Regions from separate parts of the Homo sapiens genome. Here region 2 is linked to region 1. The links are contacts of gene promoters, found by promoter capture Hi-C in human tissues and cell types (Jung and others, 2019). All regions are on one chromosome and are shown on one strand. Each heading gives the region's core, a stretch centred on a gene start or on the middle of the fragment in contact. The rest is flanking DNA. Distances are from core to core; before and after follow the strand shown.

Region 1 (4,146 bases), core at 944-3,443:
ACGGTGGACAGACCCCCAGGATCCGGGCCCAGCAGAGACGGTGGACAGACCCCCAGGATCCGGGCCCAGCAGGGGCGGTGGACAGACCCCCAGGATCCGGGCCCAGCAGAGACGGTGGACAGACCCCCAGGATCCGGGCCCAGCAGGGGCGGTGGACAGACCCCCAGGATCCGGGCCCAGCAGGGGCGGTGGACAGACCCCCAGGATCCGGGCCCAGCAGGGGCGGTGGACAGACCCCCAGGATCCGTGCCCAGCAGGGGCGGTGGACAGACCCCCAGGATCCGGGCCCAGCAGGGGCGGTGGACAGACCCCCAGGATCCGGGCCCAGCAGGGGCGGTGGACAGACCCCCAGGATCCGGGCCCAGCAGGGGCGGTGGACAGACCCCCAGGATCCGGGCCCAGCAGGGGCGGTGGACAGACCCCCAGGATCCGGGCCCAGCAGGGGCGGTGGACAGACCCCCAGGATCCGGGCCCAGCAGTGACGGTGGACAGACCCCCAGGATCCGTGCCCAGCAGGGGCGGTGGACAGATCCCCAGGATCCGGGCCCAGCAGGGGCAGTGGACAGACCCCCAGGACCCTCCTCCCGCCTCAGGCCCAGCAGGGGTGGTGGACAGCAGCCCAAGGGTATTCTGCATGGCAGCTGGAGCTGGGGTTCGGGGGCCCTGCTAGTCTGTGGTGGGGCCTGCCCAGGCTTCCTGGAGGCGGCGGCGGTGAAGGGGAGAATTCCTCGGTGTCTGCCTCCTTGTCAGACTTCGGGGCTGCGTCGCGGTTGCCCCAGCACAAAAATGAGGGCTCATCAACGTTTGCTGGGTGAGCAAAGCTTAGATGGGGTCACAGCTCCTCCGGGTTTCACTTTCCCCTCTGGACGGCAGGACTCTAACCCCTTATTGCAAGGGTACGTGGAGAGTGGGGAGGCCTCAGCCCAGCTCTCTCGCCCTCCTGGACCCCTCTTCTACCACTGTGGCAGCAGCCGCTCCTCCCAGCTTGGGCCACATCCAGACTTGGGGACATTCCCAGAATGCAGGAGGCTCCTGGACAATCAATAATTCAATAAAGCGCCAGGCGTCCGCCGGCTCCGGGTTGGTCCTGGGGATATGTTATCTTGCTGGCTCCAAGCACGAGGAGGCTGGGAACTGCTCAGCTCGGTTCCAGAAGAGGAAACTGAGGCGGGGAGGGCAGGGAGGGAGGGAGAGAAGGAAGCAGTGAAGGCCGGGGCTGGCAGATCACGAAGCAGCTGGCAGGAGGGGGGTCGGGGCCTCAGGAGGGGGGGACCCTGTGGTCTCAGGAACTGCCAGGAAGCCTGGGTTTGGACCTGGTCTTGCCCCCTATGGGTTTCTCCATCCGTGAATCACACGCATGTGCCTTCTCTCTTCGCCCCGACCCTCACGCTTTCCTGCTGTATTCCTGTTCCGGGCGTCACCACCCCTGCAGTTCTAAGCTGCACCTGTACGCTCTGTGGGCATCCTGCCCCTGCATCACCAGGGCTGGGGCCACCTCCCTCCGTCCCAGCTGTGTCCCCGGTGGCCAGGTCACTGTCCAGCATCAAGCGGGTGCTCAGGAAACGTTTGTCCATGAAATGAAGGAGCCCCCCCCTTCCAGGCTTCTTGTAGGGCTGCTGAGAGGTTGCCCATTTAGTAAGACCTGCTGTCCTAGCTGTTCGGTCCTTGTTTCTGGAAGGAAACCCCCCACCTTCCTCATCTACAGATTGAGAATTGCAGTAGGACCTGCGTACTGGGTTGTGTGAGAGTCAGAGACCCGCCAGGACGCTGGGAGGCTGGCAGGGAGGAAACGCTCCATCATAAACCCAGCTGCATTTATTACTGTTGCCGTCATTTAATTCGTCGTCGTTAGTCGGGAAAGCTCCTCGCCGGCAGCGAGTAGGGGGTCTGGGACCCTCTTCCGGTATACGGAGGCAGGGGCTTGGGAGTCCGACTTCCCGGAATCTGCGGGCGTGAGCGCCGGGGGTGGCCGTCAGCCAACCGTGACCACCTGCTTGTCTCCCACCGGCCCCCAGTCAGCCCCCGGGCCCTGGCGAGGCTCCTCCCTGCCACCAGCCTCCGGGGGCTGCGGGGAGACGGCCCCACCCCCTTCCCGCGGGGGCGGGGGCGCGGGCGCGGGCGCGGGCGGCCGTACTCGGAGGAATACGGCGGCGGCGGCGGCGGGGCTGGGCGGTTTCCCGCCGCGGGTGAATGAGTCCGACTGCGCTGCCGCCGCCGCCGCCGCCCGCATCGAAGCTCCGGCCGCGTCCCCCGCGCCAGCCCCGGGAGCCTGCGCGCCGAGACCCCTGCGTGTCTGCGAACAGACCTCCGGCCTCGGGCCATCACCCCGGGCAGGTAAGTCCGGGGACCCCGCCCGGTCTGCGGGGACCGCCGGGACCCCACCCCCCACCCCAAGCGGAGTCGGGGAGGGCTGGGGGCGGGGGGACACCGGGGAGTCGACTCGCTGCTCTCTCGGCCCCAGACCTACCGCCCCTCCCTTCCCCCACCCCGAACGCCTGGCCCTCCGGTCCAGGGAGGAGCCACAGGTGGGTGGGAGCCGGGGGGGCGGAGCTGGGACACCCCGGGGGTCCACCCACATCCGTGTCTTCCCCTGGGACTGAGCGCGGAACCCTTTGGAATGAGCGCTGAGATGCTCAAAACCAGAGTGGGGGCGGGCGAGGGGCCAGTCTCCTCTGGGAGCTCCCCGGAGAGTCAGAGCGCGGCCCCCACGCCCCTGGGCTTGGTGCTGGGAAGTTAAGCGGGATCTCTCCGGAAAAAGGTGGGGGGAACCCGCCTCACTCCTGTCCTGGGCCGCCGCGCCTGGGCGGGACGCCCCCAGGGGACCCCTCCACCCCCACCCCGCCGGCAGGGCCCTGCCGGGAGGCCCCACAGGGAGCAGGTGCCCAGGGCCCTCTGCCAGCCGCCCCCCACTGCTCCTGACCCCTGCTTCTCTTCCCAGACGCTGCAGCCCCTGTCCGGGCCTCTTGCCTGCCGCCCCCATGAGAAAAACCAACATGTGGTTCTTGGAGCGGCTTCGGGGGTCTGGGGAAAACGGTGCTGCCCGGGGCGTGGGGAGTGAGGCGGGGGACAAGGCCTCCAAGGGGCCCCTGTACAGCAATGTGTTGACGCCCGACAAGATCCCCGACTTTTTCATCCCCCCCAAGCTGCCCTCGGGCCCCGCGGAGGGCGAGGGACAGGCCGCGCTGGGCCCCTCCACGTCGGAACAGAACCTGGCCTCTGCGGCCCCCCGCCAGACCCCACGGAGCCCCCGGCTGCCTGCCAAGCTGGCAGCCGAGAGCAAGAGCCTGCTGAAGGCAGCCACCCGGCACGTGATCCAGATCGAGAGTGCCGAGGACTGGCTGTCCGAGGAGGCCACTGACGCCGACCCCCAGGCCCAGGGTGCCATGTCCCTGCCCTCGGTGCCCAAGGCCCAGACGTCCTACGGCTTCGCCATGCTGGCTGAGAGCCCCCACACGAGGCGCAAGGAGTCTCTGTTCCACAGTGAGCACGGGGCTCTGGCCCAGGTGGGCTCCCCAGGGGCCGGGCGCCGCCGGGCAGCTGCCAAGGCCAACGGGGGTGATGGGGGCCCCAGGGAGGCTGGCGGGGCCCTCATGAGCCCCGGCCGCTACTTCAGTGGCGGGGAGAGCGACACAGGGTCCTCGGCCGAGTCCTCCCCCTTCGGGTCCCCTCTGCTGTCCCGCTCCGTGTCTCTGCTCAAAGGTTTCGCCCAGGACAGCCAGGCCAAGGTGAGCCAGCTCCGGCACTCCGTGGGCCGCCACGGCTCCCTGTCTGCGGACGACAGCACCCCGGACGCCAGCCCCGGGAGCCGGCGCCGCCTGACCCGCCGGGCACCCCCGGAACCTGGCCCCGAGTCGGGCCAGGCGCGTGGGGAGCACACGGTCCACGTGGGCCCTCGGGGCAGCGTGCGGCTGCTGGCCGAGTACGAGGCCGGCCAGGCCCGCCTGCGGGTGCACCTGCTGGCCGCCGAGGGCCTCTACGACCGCCTGTGCGACGCCCGCAGCATCAACTGCTGCGTGGGCCTGTGCCTGGTGCCGGGCAAGCTGCAGAAGCAGCGCAGCACCATCGTGAAGAACAGCCGCCGCCCCGTCTTCAACGAGGATTTCTTCTTCGACGGCCTGGGGCCCGCCAGCGTCCGGAAACTGGCCC
Region 2 (4,765 bases), core at 2,077-4,576, 110 kb before region 1:
GCCTCGGCCTCCTCCCAACCTGGATCTCCCTCCTCCCAGCCTCTACCCAGCCTGGGCCTCCTCCCAACCTGGATCTCCCTCCTCCCAGCCTCTACCCAGCCTGGGCCTCCTCCTCCCAGCCCCCACCCAGCCTGGCCTCCCTCCTCCCAGCACCGCCCAGCCCGGGCCTCCCCTCCCCACCAGCACCCCCAGCCTCGGCCTCCTCCTCCCAACCTGGGTCTCCCTCATCCCCGCCTCCACCCAGCCTGGCCTCCCCCGTCCCAGCCCCTACCCAGCCTCGGCCTCCTCCTCCCAGCACCCCCCAGCCTGGCCTCCCCCCTCCCAGCCCCCACCCAGCCTGGCCTCCGTCCTCCCAGCACCCCCCAGCCTGGGTCTCCCCCCTTCTAGCCCCCACCCAGCCTGGCCTCCCTCCTCCCAGCCCCCACCCATCCTGGCCTCCCCCCTCCCAGCCCCCACCCAGCCTGGCCTCCGTCCTCCCAGCACCCCCCAGCCTGGGCCTCCCCCCTTCCAGCCCCCACCCATCCTGGCCTCCATCCTCCCAGCCCCCACCCAGCCTGGCCAGCCCCCACCCAGCCTGGCCTCCCCCCTCCCAGCCCCCACCCAGCCTGGCCTCCCCCCTCCCAGCCTCCACCCAGCTCAGGCCTCTCCTCCCCGCAGCTCCCATCCAGCCCTGGCTTCCCAGCTCCAACTGGACCGGCCTCAGGGCCTCTGCAAGGGCCGTGACACTGCCTTCCCCCAGATCTCCCTCACCTCCTCCCTGGTCTCCTCCAGGTCTCTCCTCAAATGTCGCCTCCCCTGACCCCTAACTCCTTTCCTCCTGTTTTCTTCCTAGTGGTCATCCTGTCTCACTCGCTGTCCCACATCCCTGTGAGCTTCATGTCTCCCACCAGTGTGAGCACCTGCCCTCCAGGGCCGGAAGTTCGTCTTGGTTATAGCCCTGGTGCCCAGAACACTGCCCTGCCCACAGTAGGTGCTCAGTAAATGTCTTGAATCAACGGCAGGCATCTGTCTGGGGCATCTGGCCCCAGTGAAGAAGGAATTAGTGAAATCAGCTCTAACCTAATAGTAGTAGTCATAGAAATTTTAAAATCCTCTTAAAGTTGCTGCAAAGTGTGACCCCCACCCTTACACTCAAGTTAAAAGAGAATGTTAACAGCCTGTCTTCTCTCTGTAGTCAGTGGACCTTATCTATACTCTCCAACTCCACATTCCTCAGTTTATTACAGGCCCAGCGAGTTCCTGCTTACCTCCCTAGCACGGCTGCAGGGTCACAAAACCGATAAGTTTAGGTTGTAAGACATGTTTTTCTCAAGATGTGAGAAATGTTGGCCAGGCACGGTGGCTCACGCCTGTAATCCCAGCACTTTGGGAGGCCGAGGTGGGAGGATCACAAGGTCAAGAGATTGAGGCCATCCTGGCCAACATGGTGAAACCCCATCTCTACTAAAAATACAAAAATTAGCGGGACGTGGTGGTACACGTCTGTAGTCCCAGCTACTCGGGAGTCTGAGGCAGGAGAATCGCTTGAACCTGGGAGGTGGAGGTTGCGGTGAGCCAAGATGGCGCCACTGCACTCCAGCCTGGGCGACAGAGCGAGACTCCGTCTCAAAAAAAAAAAAAAGAAAAAGAAAAAAGAAATGCTGTAATGCTTAACTGCCTTTGTTTCTCGCCTCTGTAACTTGCTTCCCGCCTCACGTAGTTCCCGCCTTACGATGTTTAAAAATAGGAAAAGCCCTTTGTTCGAGGCTCAGACTTTCTGGATGTATGTCCAGCTGAGCCGGTGATCACCTTGATAAACTCTCCTGAACCTTTTTCGGTCTCTCCACTCTTTGTCCCACAACACCAGGACCCTCTGGTCTCCCTCCCTGCAGCAGCAGCGCCTGTTTACATGTGGCCAAATACTGTGCCCAACATTTAACACAACTGACATTTGTTTTTTTCTTTTCTTTCTTTCTTTCTTCCTTTTTTTTTTTTTTTTGAGACGGAGTCTCGCTCTGTCGCCCGGGCTGGAGTGCAGTGGCGGGATCTCGGCTCACTGCAAGCTCCGCCTCCCGGGTTCACGCCATTCTCCTGCCTCAGCCTCCCAAGTAGCTGGGACTACAGGCGTCCGCCACTATGCCCGGCTAATTTTTTGTATTTTTAGTAGAGACGGGGTTTCACCGTTTTAGCCGGGATGGTCTCGATCTCCTGACCTCGTGATCCACCCGCCTCGGCCTCCCAAAGTGCTGGGATTACAGGCGTGAGCCACCGCGCCCGGCCCTCTTTCTTTTTTTGAGACAGTGTCTCACTCTGTTGTCAGGCTGGAGTGCAGTGGCACAATCTCAGCTCACAGCAACCTCCACCTCCCGGGTTCAAGCGATTCTCCTGCCTCAGCCTCCTGAGCTGCTGGGATTACAGGCGTGTGTTACCACACCCAGCTAATTTTTGTATTTTTAGTAGAGACGGGGTTTCACCATGTCGGCCAGGATGGTCTGGATCTCGAGTGACCTCGTGGTCCGCCCACCTCGGCCTCCCAAAGTGCTGGGATTACAGGTGTGAGCCACTGCGCCCAGTCTGTGCTGAACATTTAACACAGCTGACATTGCATTTTTTCTTTTTTTTTTTTTTTTGAGACAGGGTCTCACTGTGTTGTGCAGGCTGGAGAGCAGTGGTACAATCAGGGCTCACAGCAGCCTCCACCTCCTGGGCTCAAGCGATCCTCCTGCCTCAGCCTCCCAAACTGCTGGGATTACAGGTGACAGTTGCTGCTCGGGGCCAGTGGTGGTATTTCTCTCCCCACAATCCCACAGGCAAGGCCCCACAGTCAGCCTGAGGGTCAAATACGACCTGCTGCCTGCTTTTGTAAATAAAGCTTTATCGGAACATAACCACATCAGTCCGCTGACATGTGGCCTGTGGCAGCTTCCGACCAGAACCGTAGAGCTGAATGTCAGGATGGAGGCTGCCACGCAAAGCTGAAATGTTCACTATCTGGCCCCTTACAGAAGAAGGCTGTCAGCCCTGCTGCCGGCTCTGGGGTGGGTTCGATTCCCTGCCCCAGTGAGGAGCCTGAGGCCTTACTACGTGCCACTCGTGTGCTGGTAGTGTGACACACACTCCCGTGGAGGGCACCAGGGAGTGGCCAGGGAGCACCGTGGCCAGCGTGGGGGCCGCTGCAGGACCCTGGGTGGGCTGCTTAACCCCCTGGCCTCACTCCCCCCATCAGTTCCCGGCCAGGCCTCATGCTAGTGGCCTGTTACTTCCTCTGGGACATATAGGGAAACTGAGGCTCAGGGCAGCCCCATGGTCTGGCCAAGGGTCCCAGAGAGGAAGTGGCCAACCTCAGGGCTTACGCTTTTCCCTTCTGGGAGCTCAGCTTCATGGTGAGGAGGGCAGCCTTCCCTCCGGCATGACCTGGGCACACGACTTCACCTTTCTGTGGGCCACCTGTGGTAGGTGCCGGGGAAGTGCTAAGCCAGCATGCAGTAGGTGCTCAGTAAATGCAGGGTTGGTGTGCAGCAGGTGCTCAGTAATGCAGGGCTGGTACACAGTAGGTGCTCAGTGATGCTGGGCCAGAATGCAATAGGTGCTCAGTAAATGTGGGGCTGGTGTGCAATAGGTACTCAGTAATGCTGGGGCGGTGTGCAGTGGGTGCTCAGTAAATGCTGGGCCAGTAAGCAATAGGTGCTTAGTAAACGTGGGGTCGGTGTGCAGTGGGTGCTCAGTAATACAGGGCCGGTGTAGAGTAGGTGCTCAGTGAATGCAGGGCCAGTACACGGTAGGTACTCAGTAATGCTGGGGCGGTGTGCAGTGGGAGTGAAGTAAATGCTGGGCCAGCATGCAATAGGTGCTCAGTAAATGTAGGGTCAGTGTGCAGTGGGTGCTCAGTAATACAGGGCTGGTGTACAGTAGGTGCTTAGTGAATGCAGGGCTGGTACATAGTAGGTGCTCAGCAAATGTGGGGCCAGTGTGCAGTGGGTGCTCAGTAATGCTGGGTCTGTGTACAGTGGGTGCTCAGTAAATGCTGGGCCAGCATGCAATAGGTGCTCAGTAAATGTGGGGCCGGGGCAGGTTGGTGTGCAGCAGGTGCTCAGTAATGCAGGACTAGTGCACAGTAGGTGCTCAGTAATGCTGGGGTTGTGTGCAGTGGGTGCTCACTAAATGCTGGGCCAGGATGCAATAGGTGCTCAGTAAATGTGGGGCCAGTGTGCAGTAGGTGCTCAGTAAATGTGGGGCTGGTGTGCAGTAGGTACTCAGTAATGCTGGGCTGGTGTGCAGTAGGTACTCAGTAATGCTGGGCTGGTGTGCAGTAGGTACTCAGTAATGCTGGGCTGGTGTGCAGTAGGTACTCAGTAATGCAGGGCCAGTATGCAGTAGGTGCTCAGTAATGCTGGGCTGGTGTGCAGTAGGTGTTCAGTAATGCAGGGCCGGCATGCAGTAGGTGCTCAGTAAATGCTGGGCGGGTGCACAGTAGGTGCTCAGTAATGCTGGGCCGGTGCACGGTGGGTGCCTGGTGAACACGTGCCTCCCTGGTCATCACTGCTGCTCAGTTCAGGGCTTAGGGATGGACGTGCCATCTCAGCGAGCTCGAGGGTCAAAGCTCTGCTATGGAGGAGGAAACTGAGGCCCAGAGGCAGGAGGGCAGCGACCTGCAATTCAACTCTAGGCCCATCTGGCTGTACGCTCCTTTTCCCTCCCAAGTAGTAAAGGCCCCATTTGTTGGCCCTTATAATCCGCTGGGCGCTTTTACCATCCATGAGGTCATCCCCAAAATGCGCTGGGGGCA

What was found. The method cuts DNA at HindIII sites, captures the fragments that hold promoters and counts their contacts. A contact is called where the count stands out against the background at its distance.
Region 2: a contact is called between a fragment that was not itself captured here and the fragment with the promoter of C2CD4C in region 1, in 4 of the 25 tissues and cell types used here (IMR-90 fibroblasts, dorsolateral prefrontal cortex, mesendoderm cells and 1 more).

The regions. Positions count from the first base shown.
Region 1 is chr19:407,194-411,339 of GRCh38, reverse strand. C2CD4C (C2 calcium dependent domain containing 4C) reads left to right here and starts at 2,193. Exons shown (of 2, transcript NM_001136263.2): 1 at 2,193-2,334; 2 at 2,939-4,146. The coding sequence starts at 2,979. LOC124904607 (proline-rich proteoglycan 2-like) reads left to right here. Exons shown (of 2, transcript XM_047439790.1): 2 at 1-1,818. The coding sequence ends at 1,047. RefSeq lists an enhancer at 3,450-4,146. The HindIII fragment of the contact is 18,208 bases long and covers 1-4,146 here.
Region 2 is chr19:513,245-518,009 of GRCh38, reverse strand. The region is part of intron 1 of TPGS1 (tubulin polyglutamylase complex subunit 1); the gene reads right to left. Among named protein-coding and RNA genes, the nearest start is that of MADCAM1-AS1, 7.7 kb to the right of the region's middle. The HindIII fragment of the contact is 7,591 bases long and covers 1-4,765 here.